3 separate regions of the Homo sapiens genome follow, and regions 1 and 2 are each linked to region 3. Evidence: promoter capture Hi-C in human tissues and cell types (Jung and others, 2019). All regions are on one chromosome and are shown on one strand. Each heading gives the region's core, a stretch centred on a gene start or on the middle of the fragment in contact. The rest is flanking DNA. Distances are from core to core; before and after follow the strand shown. Region 1 has its middle 36 kb from the start of ENTPD6. Region 2 overlaps ZNF337-AS1 (ZNF337 antisense RNA 1). Region 3 holds the start of GINS1 (GINS complex subunit 1).

Region 1 (3,530 bases), core at 920-3,419, 250 kb after region 3:
TCCTGTGACTCCCATTTATTTTGCGTTCTTCACATCCATGGTAGTGACTTGCTCTGCCATCTTACTCCAAGAGTGGTATGGCATGAAAACTGGAGATATCATCGAGACCCTGAATGGATTCTTCACTATTATCCTTGGCATCTTTCTTCTACATGCTTTTAAAAATACTGACATTACCTGGAGTAAGCTGACATCCACTGCTAAGAAAGAAGTCATCTCTCTGAATGGCAATGAGAGCAGTCCTGTTTTACTAGAGAACTTGGAGTGTTCAGCCCTGGATACAATGATAACGTTACCTTGTTTAGCAGAACTGATGATTGAAGTCTCTAGAAACACTGAATTTTAACCAGTATGAGACAGTCAAAGAGGAAAATGAATGCTTGCTTCTTGGAACTAGGAAAGTTAGCATTTTTGAAGTTCTAACTAATTTAGATGTGAGGCCAAGTACGAATGCCATCTTTTTGGCCATTAAATTTGAAAATCAGATTGATTCTCCTCCAGAAGACGTCTGCTGCTTTTCATTTCTGCAAATTTTGAAGTATTCCCTAGGGATCAAAGAAGTCAAAGAGCTATGTGTGTCTCAGAATAGTCTCTTTCTTCTGGCCACAATATATTTGTCTCTGCCAGGTGGCTCTTCATTTTTTCCTTGGTGGCTATGACTTACATTCATCAATAGAAAGTTAGCAGTGTTCTGATAAGCAGAGTATCAGTCATTTTCTCTGATGAGTCATAATTTCAAATTATTGAAACTGAGAAGTGAGATCACCGGTGCTTTGTCCTCCCTTCTGCAACTTCTTTCTTCCTAAACTGGTTAGCTAATTAATTATCTTAAGGGAAAAACAAGCCTGCTGTGGAAATTTATTCCTTAATGGGCTAGAATACACAAGACATACCCACCCGTGAAGAGCTTATGAATTGTAACTTACTGACATATCGTAAGAATTTACTACCCATTAAAGAGGAAGAATGGAGGAAGAGAAAAATACTTTAGACCTCAAATAAAGGAAACTGTTTTTTTCTTTTCACAAAAACAACACACATGCTATTGTTTTCACAGGTCCCTTTAATTAACTCAGACCTGGATGACATAAAATGAAGTTTCTGAAGAAGTTCAGGTAAATTCAGCTTTGGAGTCACTTATGTTCATTTTGTTCCTTTATTTTACTATTATCCCAAAGGTTATTTTTCTTGTTGACATAGAGATTTTTTTGTAAAATAATCACTGGGTTATTTCAGGATTATACTGTACACTTCAATTGTTCTCAAGTGTTTTATCCCTAAAGGGTGAGTTTTCCATAGACTGTGTGGAAACAGCTAGAAAATTCTTTGTGAAAAATCTGAATGAATTATCTTAACGGCTGTCTTGAAATTTGGTACTTCCTCCCTTATTAAGGAAATTATGATTAGTTACTAATCTTTAAAAATAGGTATATCCTAATAGAGAGTCAACTTCCTGCAAAACAAAATATTAATGCCTCAGGGGCTACTGCAGGACAAAACCTTTTGCACATTAAAATGTCCGTAACAATTTCCTATTTCAAATGCATGGCAGCAATTCCATTTTTGGTGGTCTTTAACATAATGGACAGATTTACTATCACTTACTGATTTTATGGAAAAGGAATTGGCTATCTTATTTCTATACTAAACTTATTTTTCTTATCTTATTTCTTATCTCTTATGTCTTTTTCTTATCTTATTTCTATACTAAGCTTATTTTTCTCAAAACAAAAATTCTAACTGAAAAGTTGTCATTAAAAAAAATTTCAGGTTGACTGGATTTTTTCTGCTGTAACTTTAAATGTTATTAGGTTTTGTTTCTTGTTTCTAAGGTAGCTCAAGTCTTCCCAAGGTAATAATAGTAAATCTTATTCTTCAGAATTCTTTTAAGCTGACTTCAGCTTTTCCCCAGTTTTATTAAACTATGACCAATGTTCACAATGACAACCTGAGATGGCTGCAAGGCCCTAATGTGCCATTGTAGTCTTTCAGCACAGTGTAGTGTTGAGTACGATTCCATGCATTCTAAATTTTTGAAAATTGATGATCCATGGAAGGTCCATGGAATTATACCTCAGATCAAATATGTGTTTACTCCGTTCATTGCTGTTTCACTTTAGTTGTATATCAGACATATAAGCTATGAACACAAGTTTGTAGGAAAAGTATCTTCTGGCTGGGTGGTGGCTCACACCTGTAATCCCAACATTTTGGGAGGCCGAGGTGGGAGGATTACTAGATCCCAGGAGTAGTTTCAGACCAGCCTGGGCATTGCAAGACCCCATCACTAAAAAAGAAAGTAAGAAATATCAACTGAGTGTGGTGGTGTGCACCTGGAGTCCCAGCTATGTCAGGAGGCTGAGTTGTGAAAGTATCTTCTGAAAACATAGCATTTGAAAACTGCAGAAATTATTTAATTTTTTTTCTTTTAGTATTAAGAGCTTTATTGATTTCTCTAGGACATCTTCTTGGTGAGGAAATTAATGGCAGTTTTCTTGACATCCAACCTGAAACTGTGGTGGTTCTCTGTGAATTTAAGTTTTAGATATTTATTTGTGTCACCTGTTACAAAGATTTTGCCCTTGGTATGTTATGCTCAGGTCAAAGGTTCCTGAAACACAAGGCTCAGTGTGTACCCTGGATGGGAAAATGAACTGGTGTTGACATATATGCATGCCCAGGAGGAAGACTGGGAACGACTTAATGAGTTGGGGTATGCGGAGAAACAATGAAATATTGAAAACTGTCTATATAAAAATCACTGTTGGGCATATGCATTAAAAAACAATATGTTATTGCAAATTTAACACTAAAATTATTTTCCCAAACAGAAGATATTGTCTAAGGAAGAATAAAATGCTGAACCCCTATATTCAGACTGTTAATCTTACCTGGTAGTTTATGTATGTATTTCAATACTTTGTCATCACGTAGATATCTTAAGATTTATTATATGAATATCTGCATGTGTGTCATTAAGGATTACAAAGTAGTGCTCACACAAGAATTAACAACAATCCTTCTCAAACTCTTCCAAAAAGTAGAAGAGGAGGGAAAGCTTTCTAACTAATTCTCTGAGGCCAGCATTACCCTGATACCAAAGCCAGATACAGACATCACAAGAAAAGAAAAATATAGATCATATCCCTTGTGAGTACACATATTAGTCAGGTTGGGTTGCCATAACAAAATGCTATAGATTGGGTGGTTTAAACAACAGACATTTATTTCTCACAGTACTGGAGGCTGGAAGTCCCAGATGAAGGCCCAGTGAGGTTGTCTGGAGGGGGCTCTTTCCTGATTTGCAGATGGCCACCTTGTCACTGCGGTCCTCAGATGGCCTTAGCTCTGAGTGCATGTGACAAAAGAGAGAGGGAGAGATATTTCTCTCTTCCTCTTCTTATAAGGCCACCAATCCTGTTGAATTAGGCCTTATGAACTTAATAATCTTAATTACCTTCTAAAGACCCTATCTCTAAATCAGCCACATTAGGCGTTAGGAATTTAATCTATAAATTTTTGGGGAACAC
Region 2 (3,665 bases), core at 381-2,880, 230 kb before region 3:
TGAGTGTGTTCTAGTTTAGTTATTATTCATTTGGTGTCTTCTTATTTTCACTTCTGACTTCAACAAATGCTTGGAAACTTATTCTGTATTTGGCACAGGTCTATGCTGTGGGAGAATAATAAATATATTAGTGCTCTCAAAAACTTGCAATAAATGGGCCAGGTGCAGTGGCTCATGCCTGTAATCCCAGCACTTTGGGAGGCCAAGGCAGGCAGATAACTTGAGGTCAGGAGTTTGAGACCAGCCTGGCCAACACGGTGAAACCCCATCTCTACTAAAAATACAAATATTAGCCAGGCGTGGTGGCAGGCACCTGTAATCTCAGCTACCCTTGAGGCTGAGGCAGGAGAATCACTGGAGCCTGGGAGGTGGAAGTTGCAGTGAACCAAGATGGTGCCAACACACTCCAGCTTGGGCAACAGAGCCAGACTTCATCTAAAAGAAAAGAAAAAAAACCAGCAATAAATACAGGATGACAGATGCAGGCTGGTAATTTGGGGATACTGTTGAGAACTAAAGAAATAAAGTGCCTGGGATCATGGGATGTAAAAAAATACTTCATGGAGAAAGTGGGCCTCAAGAATGGCTGTGACTAGACCAGTAATTAAGGAAGCAGGGGCCTCCACATTTTATCCTCCTGCACTCACTCTTCGGTAATAAGGGGACAGAAAAGGAGGGGCATGAAAGGAAGTCTTTTTTCATCCTACTTCTAGGGAAACTGCCCCAAGAAAACTTTGGTTGGCAGCTTCTATAAATCATTGTGAATCTTGTGATCCCCAACATGCAGAAGAATCTCCTCTGTTTACATTTAGGTCTCATAGTATTCCATCCTGCAGATATGCCAAATTTTATTTTGTGGTTCCTGAAGCACCCAAGGGTGGTTTCCACCCTTTTGAATATACAGTGCTGCAGGAAATGCTCTAGTATCTGCATCCTGTAAAAGTCGTGAAAGTATTTCCAAGGGTAAATTCCTAGCAGTGGGAATGATTGTTTAAGGGACAGATTATGCCAAATTATTCTCAAAGGAGGCTGCACCAATTTACATTCCCTCCACCAGTACCTAAGGGCCTGTTTTCCTACATGGTCACCAGCTCTGACTGTCAAATGTTAAACTTTTGCTTATCCCATATATGTAGGTGGTATCTTCTTATAGTTTGGATTTGCATTTCTTAAAATGTGAGTATGATTGACCACCTTTCCGGGATTAATTGGCTGTATTTACTTTTCTATCCTCTGGCCAAGCTAAGTGTTAAGAATCCAGGGAAGATACAATTTTGAGTCATCAGCATATACATACAGATGGTATTTAAAGTCATAAAAGTGAATGAGATCACCAAAGAAGTGCGTGTAATTAAGCAGCCCTGGGGCACTCTAATACCAGAAAGTCAGGGAAATGGGAGGAACCAGAAAAGAGACTAGGAAGAGTAGTCAGTGAGCCGGGAAGAAAATGAAGAAAGTGTGGTGTCCCAAAAGCCAAGTAAAGAAAGTTTATCAGCTGGGCACGGTGGCTTACACCTGTAATCCCAGCACTTTGGGAGGCCAAGATGGGTGGATCACTAGAGGTCAGGAGTTCGAGACCAGCCTGGGAAACATAGTGAAACCCCATCTCTACTAAAAATACAAAAATTAGCTGGGCACGGTGGTGCTCACCTGTAACCCCAGCTTCTTAGGAGGGTGAGGCAGGAAAATTGCTTGGACCCAGGAGGTGGAGATTGCAGTGAACCAGGATTGTGCCACTGCACTGCAGTCTGGGCAACAGACAACAGAGTGAGACTCCATCTCAAAAAGAAAAACAGAAAGAGAAAAAAAAAAGCTTATCAAGGAGAAAGCAGTGACTGGCTAGTTCAAATGCTACTGATAGGACAAATAAGAAGAGGCCAGGAAATGGCGATTGAAGAGCAAGGTGAAGGTCATTGGTGGCCTGACAAGAGTAGTTTCGGTGGAGTGGTGTCAGTGAAATGCTAAATGGAGTGGATTCAAAGGGTGGGAGAACTTTGAAGATGCAAAACCAAGGAGGAAAGAATTGCTGAAAGATGCCCCTCAGTAAGGGTGGGATCCAGCAAACAACAGAAAGGGCTGGCGGTAGCTGGGTAGATGTGGGAGCCTAAGATTCTCTTCTGGTTGCTTCTGTTTCATCCCTATAAACCTGACAGTGCCCTAATCTGAGAAAACTTTAAACCAGAAGGCACACTTGCCCTTGAGGCCGTTCAGTTGTAATAAACTTGCACAGGGGAGGTAGTTGGGAAGGGCCAGGAGAACTTCCCCTAATATAGGAGACGACAGGCTCAACGCTGGGCATCAGCATCCGCACAACAATGGTGCCATTCTGCAGATGGAAGAATGCAGGAGAAACATGACTACAGTTGCATTTCCATTCATTCCTAGATCAAGTCTCACAGTCAAAAATCTTTTTTTTTTTTTTTTTTTTTGAGGCAGAGTCTTATTGTCGCCGAGGCTAAAGTGCAGAGGCAGGACCATAGCTCACTGTAGCCTCAACCTCCTGAGCTCAAGCTATTCTCCCACCTCAGCCTCCCAAGCAGATGGGACCACAGGCACACACCACTACACCCAGCTAATTTTCAAATTTTTTGTAGATATGGGGTCTCACCATGTTGGCCAGCCTGGTCTCAAACTCCTGGCCTAAAGCAATCTGACTGCCTCAGCCTCCCAAAGTGCTGAGGTTATAGGCATGAGCCACTGAGAACAGTGACTTACAAATCTTCTATTCAAACCTTGTTTCCTGCAAATTTGAAGATGTCCTCTAACTACTAGTGTTAATCTATCAAAATGGCAGTTTAAGTACTGTGCTTAGCAAACAGGTTCATCTGTAATGAGTCTGTACATCTCCCCTCCTTAAAATGCTACACGAAGACTCATTCATCCACAAATGTTAGACTAAATCCATAAACACCCTAGAAGAAAACTTAGGCAATACCATTCAGGACATAGGTGTGGGCAAGGACTTCATGACTAAAACACCTAAAGCAATGGCAACAAAAGCGAAAATAGACAAATGGGATCTAATTAAACTAAAGAGCTTCTGCACAGCAAAAGAAACTACCATCATAGTAAACAGGTAACCTACAGAATGGGAGAAAATTTTTGCAATCTACCCATCTGACAAAGGGCTAATATGCAGAATCTACAAAGAACTTAAACAAATTTACAAGAAAAAATCAAACAACCCCATCAAAAATTGGGCAAAGGATATGAACAGACACTTCTCAAAATAGGACATTTTTATGCAGCCAATAGACACATGAAAAAATGCTCATCATCACTGGTCATCAGAGAAATGCAAATCAAAACCACAATGAGATACCATCTTATGCCAGTTAGAGTGGCGATCATTAAAAAGTCAGGAAACAACAGATGCTGGAGAGGATGTGGAGAAATAGGAACGCTTTTACACTGTTGGTGGGAGTGTAAATTAGTTCAACCATTGTGGAAGACAGTGTGGCAATTCCTCAAGGATCTAGGACTAGAAATACCATTTGACCCAGTGATCCCATTATTGGGTGCTATATACCCAAAGGATTATAAATCATGCTAGTATAAATACACATGCACATGTATGTTTATTGTGGCACTGTTCACAATAGCAAAGACTTGGAACCAACCAAAATGTTCACCAATGATAGACTGGATTAAGAAAATTGGTACAT
Region 3 (3,616 bases), core at 916-3,415:
TACACACTTCTGCATTCAAGCATCTCTACTGAGCTGCAGACTGCTGCCTAACTTTTTAAATGAGGTAACTGCTCTGAAGTTGAAAAAACAATTGACTAGAAACTGGAAAACCTGTGTTCAAGTTGAAGCTCTACCTCCAATATGCTGTAAATTCAGACGAGTTCCTTAACTTGACCCATAATTTGTGTCAGCTCAGTTTCTTCATTTGTAAGACAATCTAATTGTCTGGCTAGGTGCTCTTTAGTGTTCAAAACAAAACTCATTACCTTTCCCAACACACTCTATCTCCTGAACTCTGATGTTGTTTACCCAGTTTCCTAAGGATCCTCCAAGATCCCAATTCCTCCCTCTTATTCATTATGGACCCCATCTCTGCCCCTGCTCTAATAGCTACAAGTCATGTTTGCTTCATGTCTCTAAAACCCAAACACTGATCTCAGTGCCACTGACCTGACACAGTTCAGACCACACACCTCTCACCTGCTCTATCAGCCACCCAGTAGCCATCTCCCTGTCCCATTCTTTCCTCTCTTCAATCCATTCCCCATATTGCTGCCGCAGTTACCTTCAAAACACAAAAATTACCCTATCACTTCCTTGTCTAAAATCCTCTACCAGCTCCCAGCATGCCTTATAAGTGAACAACAAATTCATGTAGGCTGTGAGCCACCTTCCTAGACTCCCCACAGGCCCTATTGGTCACCCTCTCCAGTGTGACCACGTGACTTTGTGCTGCAGCATCCTTTGGCTGGGATGCCTCGCTTCCTTCTCAGATCAGTAACCTCATCCTTGAGGATGGAAAGGCTCATATATCACCTCTTCTACCCCAGCTCATACTGGTGTTTCTCCTTCGTGCTCCTTGCTATACCTCCTTAGTATCACTTAGCGTGGTGAATTCTATTATCTGTTTTTGTGCCCATCTTCCAGCAGAATGTGTCCTGACATCCACATAATGCCTGCTCTATGACGTAAGTGAAATATACAATTTAGAGTGCAGGCTCTGGAGCCAGAGTGCCAGGGTTCAAATCCTAGCTTTCTTGCTGTGTCACCTTAGGCAATATACTTAAATCTCCCCAATCCTATGCATATATAGCTGAAAAAAGTAGAAAACAATAGTTTAAACATCAAAAAGTTATTTTTGTTTTGTTTGGGACAGGGTCTCCCTGTCACTCAGGCTGGAATGCAGTGGCAGGATCAAGCGATCCTCCCGCCTCAGCCTCCCAAAGTGCTGGGATTACAGGCAGGAGCCATGGTACCGGGCCCTCAAAGGGTTATTAGAAAGACAAAAGATAATGTACATGAAGTGCTTAGCACTCTCCCTGGGGTAGCAGTGATAGAAAAATACAAATAATCATAATATTAATAGTAACAGCAGCAGCAGGAGAAAAGTAATATTAATAGCTAACACTGACTCAGCCCTTACTGTATGTGAGGCATATGCAGAGACCCTTACACATGCCACTCATTTTGCGTCCACTACATCATGCGTTGGGTACTATTATTGTCACCATCCCCATTTTTGCGTATGAGAAAACTGAGAGCACAGAAAGCTTGAGTAACTGCCCCAAAGTCACACTACAGAACCAGAATCTCAGCCAGGTTCCAGAGGCCTAGCTTTTACTGACCACGATTAGATGCCTGAGTGAGCAAGAAATGCTAAATTATCAGGCAACCTGTAAATATTTTAAGGGACCGGAACAAATCTGTCCAAGGAAAACTGCTAAAATGCAAAATTTGCTCAGATGAGGAAATTCACCAAATCGCTGGGTAGCGTAAGCATGAATGCTTTCTCTTTCCTCCTGAATTTTGTTTTGCTGCTTCCCAAGTTTTCCGGAGCTCGGAGGGAACAAGGTGCGAAAGTGAACCCTGACGGGGAGCCGCCCCGCCCCAGAGCCCAGGGCCCAACGCCGGCATGCCCCGTCCAAGTCTACCCGCCCCTCACGTTGAAGGCAGGCAGTTGCCCTTCGGGCGCGCGATGCAGCTCGCGGATCAGTTCCATGGCTTTTTCGCAGAACATGGCGGACGCTTCCCACTCCCGCGGCCTTGCCAACCACCAGCTCTCACGCCAAAATGGTATCTGGGCTCTCGGCGCCTCACTCCTTTCGTTCTAGTCCTACAGCGCCAGGCTCTCGCCTCGGCCTCCGCTCCGCGCTTTGGCGCCGAACAAAGCTAGCCAATAGGAACGCGCCTACGGCGCCCGAAAAGGGACATCCACCGCTCAGCCGCATTCCAAGAGGGGCGGAGTGGGAGGGGTCTTTCCAAGGTGAGGTCCCCGCCCCGGAGATGGCAGAACCCCTCGGCTGAGCAGAGACGGCTTTTCCAGTTCTCAGGCAGTGGGCCGGGGGACTCTACGGGCAGCAGAGCTGGAAATAAATGCACGCCCCGCAGCTTCCTTGTCATTTTCCTTTTGATTCATTCATTCTCGTTTAGGTTCAAGAAAAGAGCACTTTGAGGTTAAGAGGAAAGGCCCAAAAACTTGGTGTGCATTGGTAGGACGCAAGGGTTTCAGTTTTGCAGTGCGGGTTTTCTGTTTGATATTAAAATGAAACTCTCTTTTATTGGGTACCTAGTGCTGGTAGGGACTGCAGTGTGTATTTCATTCCCACAATTATCTCTGAAGTGTTTTAAGACCCGGGATTAATAAGGAAACAGAAGTTAGGTAACTTGCCCAAGGTCACACAGCTCCAGAGTGATTAGACTGTTATTTAGGCTTTCCATTTCCAACACCACAGTACCACCCTTTGATTTTAAAATAGTCTTTTAAAAATATTTGTAATATCTGCCCTAGATTAATACGAATTCACTAGGAATTTTCTTGGCTAGATGGTTATGGAATATTTCTTAAGCATATGGAAGATGGGAATCACTGCTAAAGAATTGTTTTATTAGGCAATTTTTCAAAAAGCAATGTTAATTTCTAACAAGCAATCTTGGATTTTTTTTTTTTTGAGATGGAGTCTCGCTCTGTCGCCCAGGCTGGAGTGCAGTGGCGCGAACTCGGCTCACTGTAAGCTCCGCCTCCCGGGTTCACGCCATTCTCCTGCCTCAGCCTCCCGAGTAGCTGGGACTACAGGCGCCCGCCACCACGCCCAGCTAATTTTTTGAATTTTTTAAGTATAGACGGGGTTTCACCGTGTTAGCCAGGACGGTCTCAATTTCCTGACCTCGTGATCCGCCCACCTCGGCCTCCCAAAGTGCTGGGATTACAGGCATGAGCCACCGCAACCGGCGCAATCTTGGATTAATTCTAGCTAACCCTAGAAACTATGTTGATCTTTTGCAAATATACAGTAGATATGTCATCTAAGGAATGGGCATGGGAATGGCCTACTCAGGCTTATGTTGAATAATGACATTGCCTTTTTTTTTTGGAGACAGGGTCTTAACTCCCGTTACCCAGGTGGAGTGCAGTGGCGCCATCTCAGCTCACTGCAGCCTCCACTTCCCGGGCTGAGGTAATTTTCCCCCCTCAGCCCTCTGAGTAGCTGGGACTACAGGCTCAGGCCACCACACCTGGCTATTTTGTATTTTAAGTAGAGACAGGGTTTCACCATGTTGGCCAGTCTGGTCGACAACTCTTGAGCTCAAGGGATCCGTCCGCCTGGGCCTCCCAAAG

What was found. The method cuts DNA at HindIII sites, captures the fragments that hold promoters and counts their contacts. A contact is called where the count stands out against the background at its distance.
Region 1: a contact is called between a fragment that was not itself captured here and the fragment with the promoter of GINS1 in region 3, in 1 of the 25 tissues and cell types used here (aorta).
Region 2: a fragment that was not itself captured here is called in contact with the fragment with the promoter of GINS1 in region 3 in 1 of the 25 tissues and cell types used here (spleen).

Annotation. Positions count from the first base shown.
Region 1 is chr20:25,157,878-25,161,407 of GRCh38, reverse strand. It overlaps the pseudogene NIPAL1P1. Among named protein-coding and RNA genes, the nearest start is that of ENTPD6, 36 kb to the left of the region's middle. The HindIII fragment of the contact is 4,080 bases long and covers 130-3,530 here.
Region 2 is chr20:25,630,819-25,634,483 of GRCh38, reverse strand. All of the region lies in intron 1 of ZNF337-AS1 (ZNF337 antisense RNA 1), which reads right to left. Among named protein-coding and RNA genes, the nearest start is that of ZNF337-AS1, 8.6 kb to the right of the region's middle. RefSeq lists an enhancer at 107-156. The HindIII fragment of the contact is 7,167 bases long and covers 1-3,665 here.
Region 3 is chr20:25,406,222-25,409,837 of GRCh38, reverse strand. GINS1 (GINS complex subunit 1) reads right to left here and starts at 2,165. Exons shown (of 7, transcript NM_021067.5): 1 at 1,943-2,165. The coding sequence starts at 2,017. LOC105372581 (a long non-coding RNA gene) reads left to right here and starts at 1,543. Exons shown (of 3, transcript XR_937403.3): 1 at 1,543-1,767. RefSeq lists enhancers at 1,019-1,776, 1,874-2,123. The HindIII fragment of the contact is 13,310 bases long and covers 1-3,616 here.